2 separate regions of the Homo sapiens genome follow, and region 2 is linked to region 1. Evidence: promoter capture Hi-C in 16 types of primary human blood cells and fetal thymus (Javierre and others, 2016). All regions are on one chromosome and are shown on one strand. The core of a region is centred on a gene start or on the middle of the fragment in contact, and the rest is flanking DNA. Distances in the headings are between cores, read along the strand shown.

Evidence for each region. Contacts are between HindIII fragments. The CHiCAGO score rates a contact against its expected background, and 5 or more counts as called.
Region 2: the fragment with the promoter of SPACA6 here is called in contact with the fragment with the promoter of ZNF787 in region 1 in 2 of 17 cell types (naive CD4 T cells and activated CD4 T cells); the score reaches 7.2 in naive CD4 T cells.

What each region holds. Positions count from the first base shown.
Region 1 is chr19:56,119,802-56,122,712 of GRCh38, reverse strand. ZNF787 (zinc finger protein 787) reads left to right here and starts at 1,418. Exons shown (of 3, transcript NM_001002836.4): 1 at 1,418-1,541. It overlaps LOC124904772 (a long non-coding RNA gene), which reads right to left and starts at 1,103. Exons shown (of 2, transcript XR_007067348.1): 1 at 781-1,103. RefSeq lists silencers at 922-1,291, 1,382-1,501, 1,512-1,591, 1,882-2,201, 2,282-2,331 and enhancers at 936-1,651, 2,079-2,373. The HindIII fragment of the contact is 11,888 bases long and covers 1-2,911 here.
Region 2 is chr19:51,691,859-51,694,769 of GRCh38, reverse strand. It overlaps SPACA6 (sperm acrosome associated 6), which reads right to left and starts at 1,440. Exons shown (of 9, transcript NM_001316972.2): 1 at 1,030-1,440; 2 at 215-292. The coding sequence starts at 1,243. It overlaps SPACA6-AS1 (SPACA6 antisense RNA 1), which reads left to right and starts at 1,314. Exons shown (of 2, transcript NR_108100.1): 1 at 1,314-2,136. It overlaps MIR99B (microRNA 99b), which reads right to left and starts at 2,158; the gene lies at 2,089-2,158. MIRLET7E (microRNA let-7e) reads right to left here and starts at 1,984; the gene lies at 1,906-1,984. It also overlaps MIR125A. The HindIII fragment of the contact is 8,848 bases long and covers 1,093-2,911 here.

The DNA.
Region 1 (2,911 bases), core at 169-2,668:
TCTGTTCTAAGATATATTTAAAAATTTACCTTTGTGATATTTCTGAAGGAGGGACACAGATATCCTCCTATTGACACACACAGTTAACACAGCACTGTTCACCCCACCCCATGGAAAGATGTTATTAAATCAATAATATACATCTTATGATTGATGCTCACTGAGCTTTGAGGGTATACAGTGGCCACAACAATAGACTTATATGTAACACTGCTAATAGGTAATAATAACCACCATCATTTTTGTGAACTTACTATGGGCCAGGTATTGAACTAAGCAGCTCTTACACATATTACCTTGCAGGTTATCTTATTTTTTCCCATTCCACAGATGAGAAATTGAGGCTGAGAAAGGTGTTATTCCACCAGTGAATTATAGCTTCTTATCTTTTCTGACTACCAGTGAGGATGATAACAATTATAAGCGATAAGTCATCTGCCACTTAGGTGAGAGTCAGCCAAGTACAGAACAGAGGAAGGACCAGAAGGACCAGCCTACAAGGACACTATGGTTTGGACAATTATTTTAAAATATGTGTTTTTTGCAAGAATACCAACAGTAACAGCTAACACCCAGTGCGTCCTTACTAGGTGCCTACCTAACGCGGGGGAAGTAGTGGATTCTCAGGGCTATGACACGAGGCAGTGTGTACAGTCAAGGGTTAAATACACGAATTTAGAGCCAAACTCCATGGGTTCGGGCCGAGGCTCTGGCATTCCGGGTGTGTGACTTTTGGTAGGTGATTTGACTCCTCACCTGCAACATAGGGATAGGACCTACCATGAGGCCCTAGTTAGGACTAGGACCTAGTGCGTGTGAAGCACTTGGAGGCGCACAATGTATTTTCATCACTTCAGAAAGGAGGAAACTGAGGCCATGGCACCTGAAGCGCAGCACTCTCTGTCCAGTAACTAAGGAACCCGGGGTCTCTGTCCAGTAACTAAGGCACCTGGACTCGGGCCACTGGGAGGTGCAGCGGCAGAGAAGGGGTTACCATGATAGAGACGGTAGGAGGACCCGGGGTGGCACGAGCGTCCCTCTCCACCACTTCACTCTCCTCACGGCGGGCCCGGGGACCCGGCCGCGCAGGCGCGAGGAGCCCGGGTTGTCGGGGGGGCACCGCCCTAGACACCCGGAAGTCTCCGCCTAACGGGCCCAGCCCGCACCTCCTGTCCGGGAAGGGGGCGGGGCCGAAGCCCCTCGGCGCGGGGCGCCATAGAGCATGGACGGAGGACCTGCGTCCTAGACACTTCCGGAAGTGGCTCCCTCAGGCGCCCGCCGGGCACCACAGAGCTGGGGGCGGTGGCCGGGATAGCGGGCTCGCCTTCCTAGAGCGGCGAGGACAGGGTGGCGGCCCGGGGGGCAGGGAGTAGGGAGAAGGGGGGGAGCGGCGCGGGCGGAAGCGGCCGGGAAGGTCACTTCCGGCCTGGGCGCCCGTCCCCCTGACCCCAGGGTCTGAGTCGCCGCTGCCGCCGCTGCCACCATCCGCGAGGCAGGAGAGAGGAGGAGGAGTGCGGCGCGGCGGCCCCGGGACCAAGGAGGTGAGGGGTGGGGGCGGGGGCCGTGCGCTGGGGGCCAGGTGGGCGCGCGCTTCGGGAAGCTGGGCTTGGGCTGGGGGTGGGTGGGGAGACTGGAGGGCGAGCGCGACTGGGCGGCGGGCGCGCGTGCGCGCTGCTGGGGGGGCGTGAGTGGGCGCGCGGCCGGGGTGACGCGGGCGGGGGGAGTGCGCGTGCGCGCCGAAGAGCTGTGGGAGGGGACGCGCGCCCGGGCGGCCCGCGGGCGGCGAGCGGGGCTGGAGGGGGGGTGCGCGTGCGCGGGTCCGGGTCCAGGGCGCGCGCGTGCGCGTGGCGGGGGCAGGAGCGGGGGCCTCGGTGGGGGTCCCTCTGCTGCGGGCCGTCGGGGGTGGGGCCGCTGTCCGTCCCCCCGAAGTTCCAACTCCGCCGGTCGTGGCCGGAAGTGGTGGCGACTTCGGGGGGAAGTTGAGGCCCAGGTGGGGGAAGGGGCCGCGCGGTTGGGCTGGCCTGGCCGGATACCGCGGCCCCGAGGGCACGGTCTCAGCCCTCGGCCCCCCCAGCCCTTCCTTCCCCTTTTCGAGTCAGCCCGGGTCCCGTTGCTGCCCCGGGCGGGCTGCGCGTGGCCTTTGATCAGGCGGGTAATTACGGGGATTCTGGCCGGCAGGAGGCCCATTCATTCGTCCTTGCTCGGCAGGCGGGGAGGAAGCGCGTCCCCAGCGGGGGAAGTGACTGGGCCAAGGTCAGCCACCGCGTGGCCCACGGGGCAGGGCGAAGGCGGGGACTGGATCGGGTGGCGACTCCTGAGGCCTCCCTCCCCTGTGCCGAGTGGATCAGAGTGGAGCCCCGCCCTCCTGACACCCCACCCCGACCCCCAGTCCAGGGAGCTGACCCCAATTCATGTGGATGAGTGCTCTGGGACCTGCAGAGTCGCACAGAAAAGTGACCCACAGACACAGAAGGCAGGAGTGAGTGGAGGCAGAAGTTTTTCCAGTGCCAGGCCCTGTGCCGGGCACTAGAGACAGGGAGCAGGGAGATGAACAAGGGCTTGGAGTCTGGGTGGAAGGCAGAGACTGAGACCCGGGCGACAGAGTCGCCATCCAAGGTGACCAGACCCCTGATGGAGAGGTCTGGGGGCTGTGGGAGCCAGGGAAGGCATTTTGACCCAGCCCAGTCCGGGGGATGGTCAGGGCTTTAGGGAAGGAATGGCTTGGTCTGCTCTTTGCGGTGTCCTGCTCCCAGGTCCCATGTTGCGCAGTGCTTAGAACCCATCTGGGGATCCGATTGACCCCAGCGCCGGGAAGCACAGTTGCGTTGATCCTGGCTTAGCTCCTCTGAAGACCGTAAGCCTCTTTGGCTAAACGCTGCTGACATTCACCTGCCTGCCTCTGCGCAGTCCC
Region 2 (2,911 bases), core at 191-2,690, 4.4 Mb after region 1:
CCCTTCCCCCTCACCACCTTCAGCCCCTGGCTCTTAGAGCTGCCTTCAGCCTTCGTTTGGACAAGTAGCTGAGCTCAATGTCTTCCCAGCTTTCCCCTCCCGGATCACTGCCCAACTCTGGGGGCCTCCTTCCTCTGCCCTGGGCCCTCCCACATACCCATTTCTTAGGGGCTCCAAGTCCACATCTCCCATCTCCCCATCCCCACACACTCACCCTGGGCAGCAGCCAGCTCCTGCAGGGCATGGGTCATCTGGGTGAAGGTGTCATGCAGGTGGCTTCTCTCATCATAGTCTGGCGGTGAGGGAGGGAGCAGGGGCTGGGGGAGGCAGCTCCCCGCAACACCATGTCCCTAATGCGAACATTCTGTTTCTGAGTCTCTGCCCTCCCAAGTCTGTATCCTCCCCTCTCTGACTCTTTGCCCCACAGTCGCTATGCTTCCTGAGTCCCTCCCAAGTCTCTATCCTCCCTGAGTCTCTGCCCCCGACCAGTCGCTATCCTGCTTCCCCTAGTCTCTGCCTCATCTCTGTCCTCCTCTCTCTGGGTTTCCATCCTCTTTGAGTCTCCATCTTCCACCCTCTGAGTCTCCATCCTCCCCTCTCTGGGTCTCTATTCCCTCTCCAGTCTCCAACCTCTCCTGACTCTCCATCCTCCCCTTTCTATGAGTCTCCATCCTCCTGACTCTCCATCCTCCCGAGTGTCCATCCTCCCCTCTCTGACTCTCCATACTCCTGAGTCTCCATCTTTCCGAGTCTCCATCTTCCTCTCTCTCTGAGTCTCCATCCTCCCCCTCTCTGAGTCTCCATCTTCCCCTCTCTGACTCTCCATCCTCCCCTCTCTGAGTCTTTGCCCTGCTGTCTTCCCCTGTCTGTGTCTCTCTGTCCCTAAGTCTCTGTTGTTCTCATGGTCTTTGAGCCTTTCTCCTCTGACTGTTTCTCTCTGTCTGTCCCTCAGCCTGACCCTCTGGGCCTCTCCTGCCCTCCCTCTGCACCTTCCCCAGGACACTGATGAAGTGTGGATGGTCTCCTCACTGATTTCGGTGTCAGAGAGGCCCTGGAAGGCGGCCGTGAAGGCCTCCTCACACTCTTCAAGCTTGGGGCTCCGCATCCCAACAAACATCTGGCAGATGCGGAGGCGCTCAGAGTAGGTTGTGAAGCAGAGGAGACAGGCCCAGGCGGGCACCCTGAAGACAGCCAGGGCCAGCAGGGCAGACGGGACGGCACTGGCCAGAGCCAGCAGGGCCATCGTGTGGGTCTCAAGGCCAGGGGAGAAGCTAGTAACCTTTATGAAGTCACCACAGGGCGGGGGAAGGGCCAGTGGTCTGGGGTCAGAGGTCAGGTTTCAGTTGGTGGTCAAATGTCATGCTCTGGAGGAAGGGTATGAGGAGTCAGGGGTCAGAAGTCAGGCCAGCAATTCCCCAGGTGTGTGGTTGGGCCAGACGCCAGGCTCCCAAGAACCTCACCTGTGACCCTGGATGTCCTCACAGGTTAAAGGGTCTCAGGGACCTAGAGACTGGCAACATGGTGTGCGGTGGCCCGGTAGACCCTGGGGTGGGGGTCAGAGATGGAGATAGGCACAGAGACATTCTGAGAGCCAGAGACAGAAAGACCAAAAACGACAGAAATAGAGACACAGAGAGATATCGGGAGGGGCAGAGACCTAGAAAGCCAGAATAAGAGGGAGTCAGAGGATCCACTGTGAAAGAGACACAGAAGCCACAGAGACACAGCAGAGATGGAGACAGACAGGGAAGGAAAACAGATTTCAGGGGAAGGAGGGGATGCAGGGACAAGGACAGAAAAGAGCCCGGCTCTTCCTCCCAGGGTCCCTGGGGCAGCCCAGTGGGGCTAAGGGTCCCTGAGTGGGGCTGGGGGTCCCCGCCGGGCCCCGTCCCGTGCAGGGCGCAGCCTGGGGAAAGCTAGGAGGCCGTATAGTGATCTCCTTGGGTGTCCTCCTCAACTATACAACCTCCTACCTCAGCCCGGGGGGCGCGGCAGGTGGACAGACCCGACAGACAGACAGACAGGGACCAGGAGGACCAGGGATGAGGGGGAGGGCCGGGGAGGCCCCAGCCGCGATGGTGAGCCCCCGACACGGACCCACAGACACGAGCTTGTGTGCGGCGAAGGCCCCGCAAGGTCGGTTCTACGGGTGGGTGCCAGGACCCAGGAGTCCGGGCCCCCGGCCCCTCCTCCCCAAGGAACCCAGGAGTCCAGGCCCTCAGCCCCTTCCTCATCAGGGACCCTGGAGTCAAGGCTCTCATCCCCCTCCTCCCTAAAGAACCCAGAAGTCTAGGCCCTTCCTCACCACAGACCCAGGAATCCAGGCCTCTGGCCCTTTTCTCCCCAAATGTTCCTGGAATCCAAGGACTCAGCCCCTTCCTCCCTCAGACTCATGAGTCCAGATCCAAAGCCTCCTTCTCCCCAGAGACCCAGGAGTCCCTGCCCCCAGCCCCTCCTCCCTCCGGCCAGGCAGGCCTCCTGGGGAAGGCATGGCCTGATAGAAAACCTGGCTTCCTGGGTGCCGGCTGGGAGGGAACCTCATTTGTCTCGTAATTTGGCCCTTTGGGCACACCTGCTTCCTACCTACCCTCCTGTCAGTCTGCAGAGACTCCAGGCCCAGGGCTAAGGAGGCCAGGGGCTAGCCAACCATCAGAGCCTCCCTAGGTGCTTTCTTTCCTCTCTCCTCCCTTCTTTGGGTCATTTACAACTATGACAGCCACAATCTCCCAGCGCTGACCCCATACCAGGCCCTGAGCACCAGTCCTCTCCCTGACACCTCCCACTCCAGAGAGCGAGGTGCCCTCAGCATCCCCATTTGGCAGGTGAGGGGGCTGAGCCTCAGAGAGGGGAAGAGGCTCCCAAAGTCTGCCCAGCCCCATCTCTGTCCTCCCTCTTGAATCCAGGAGGTGTC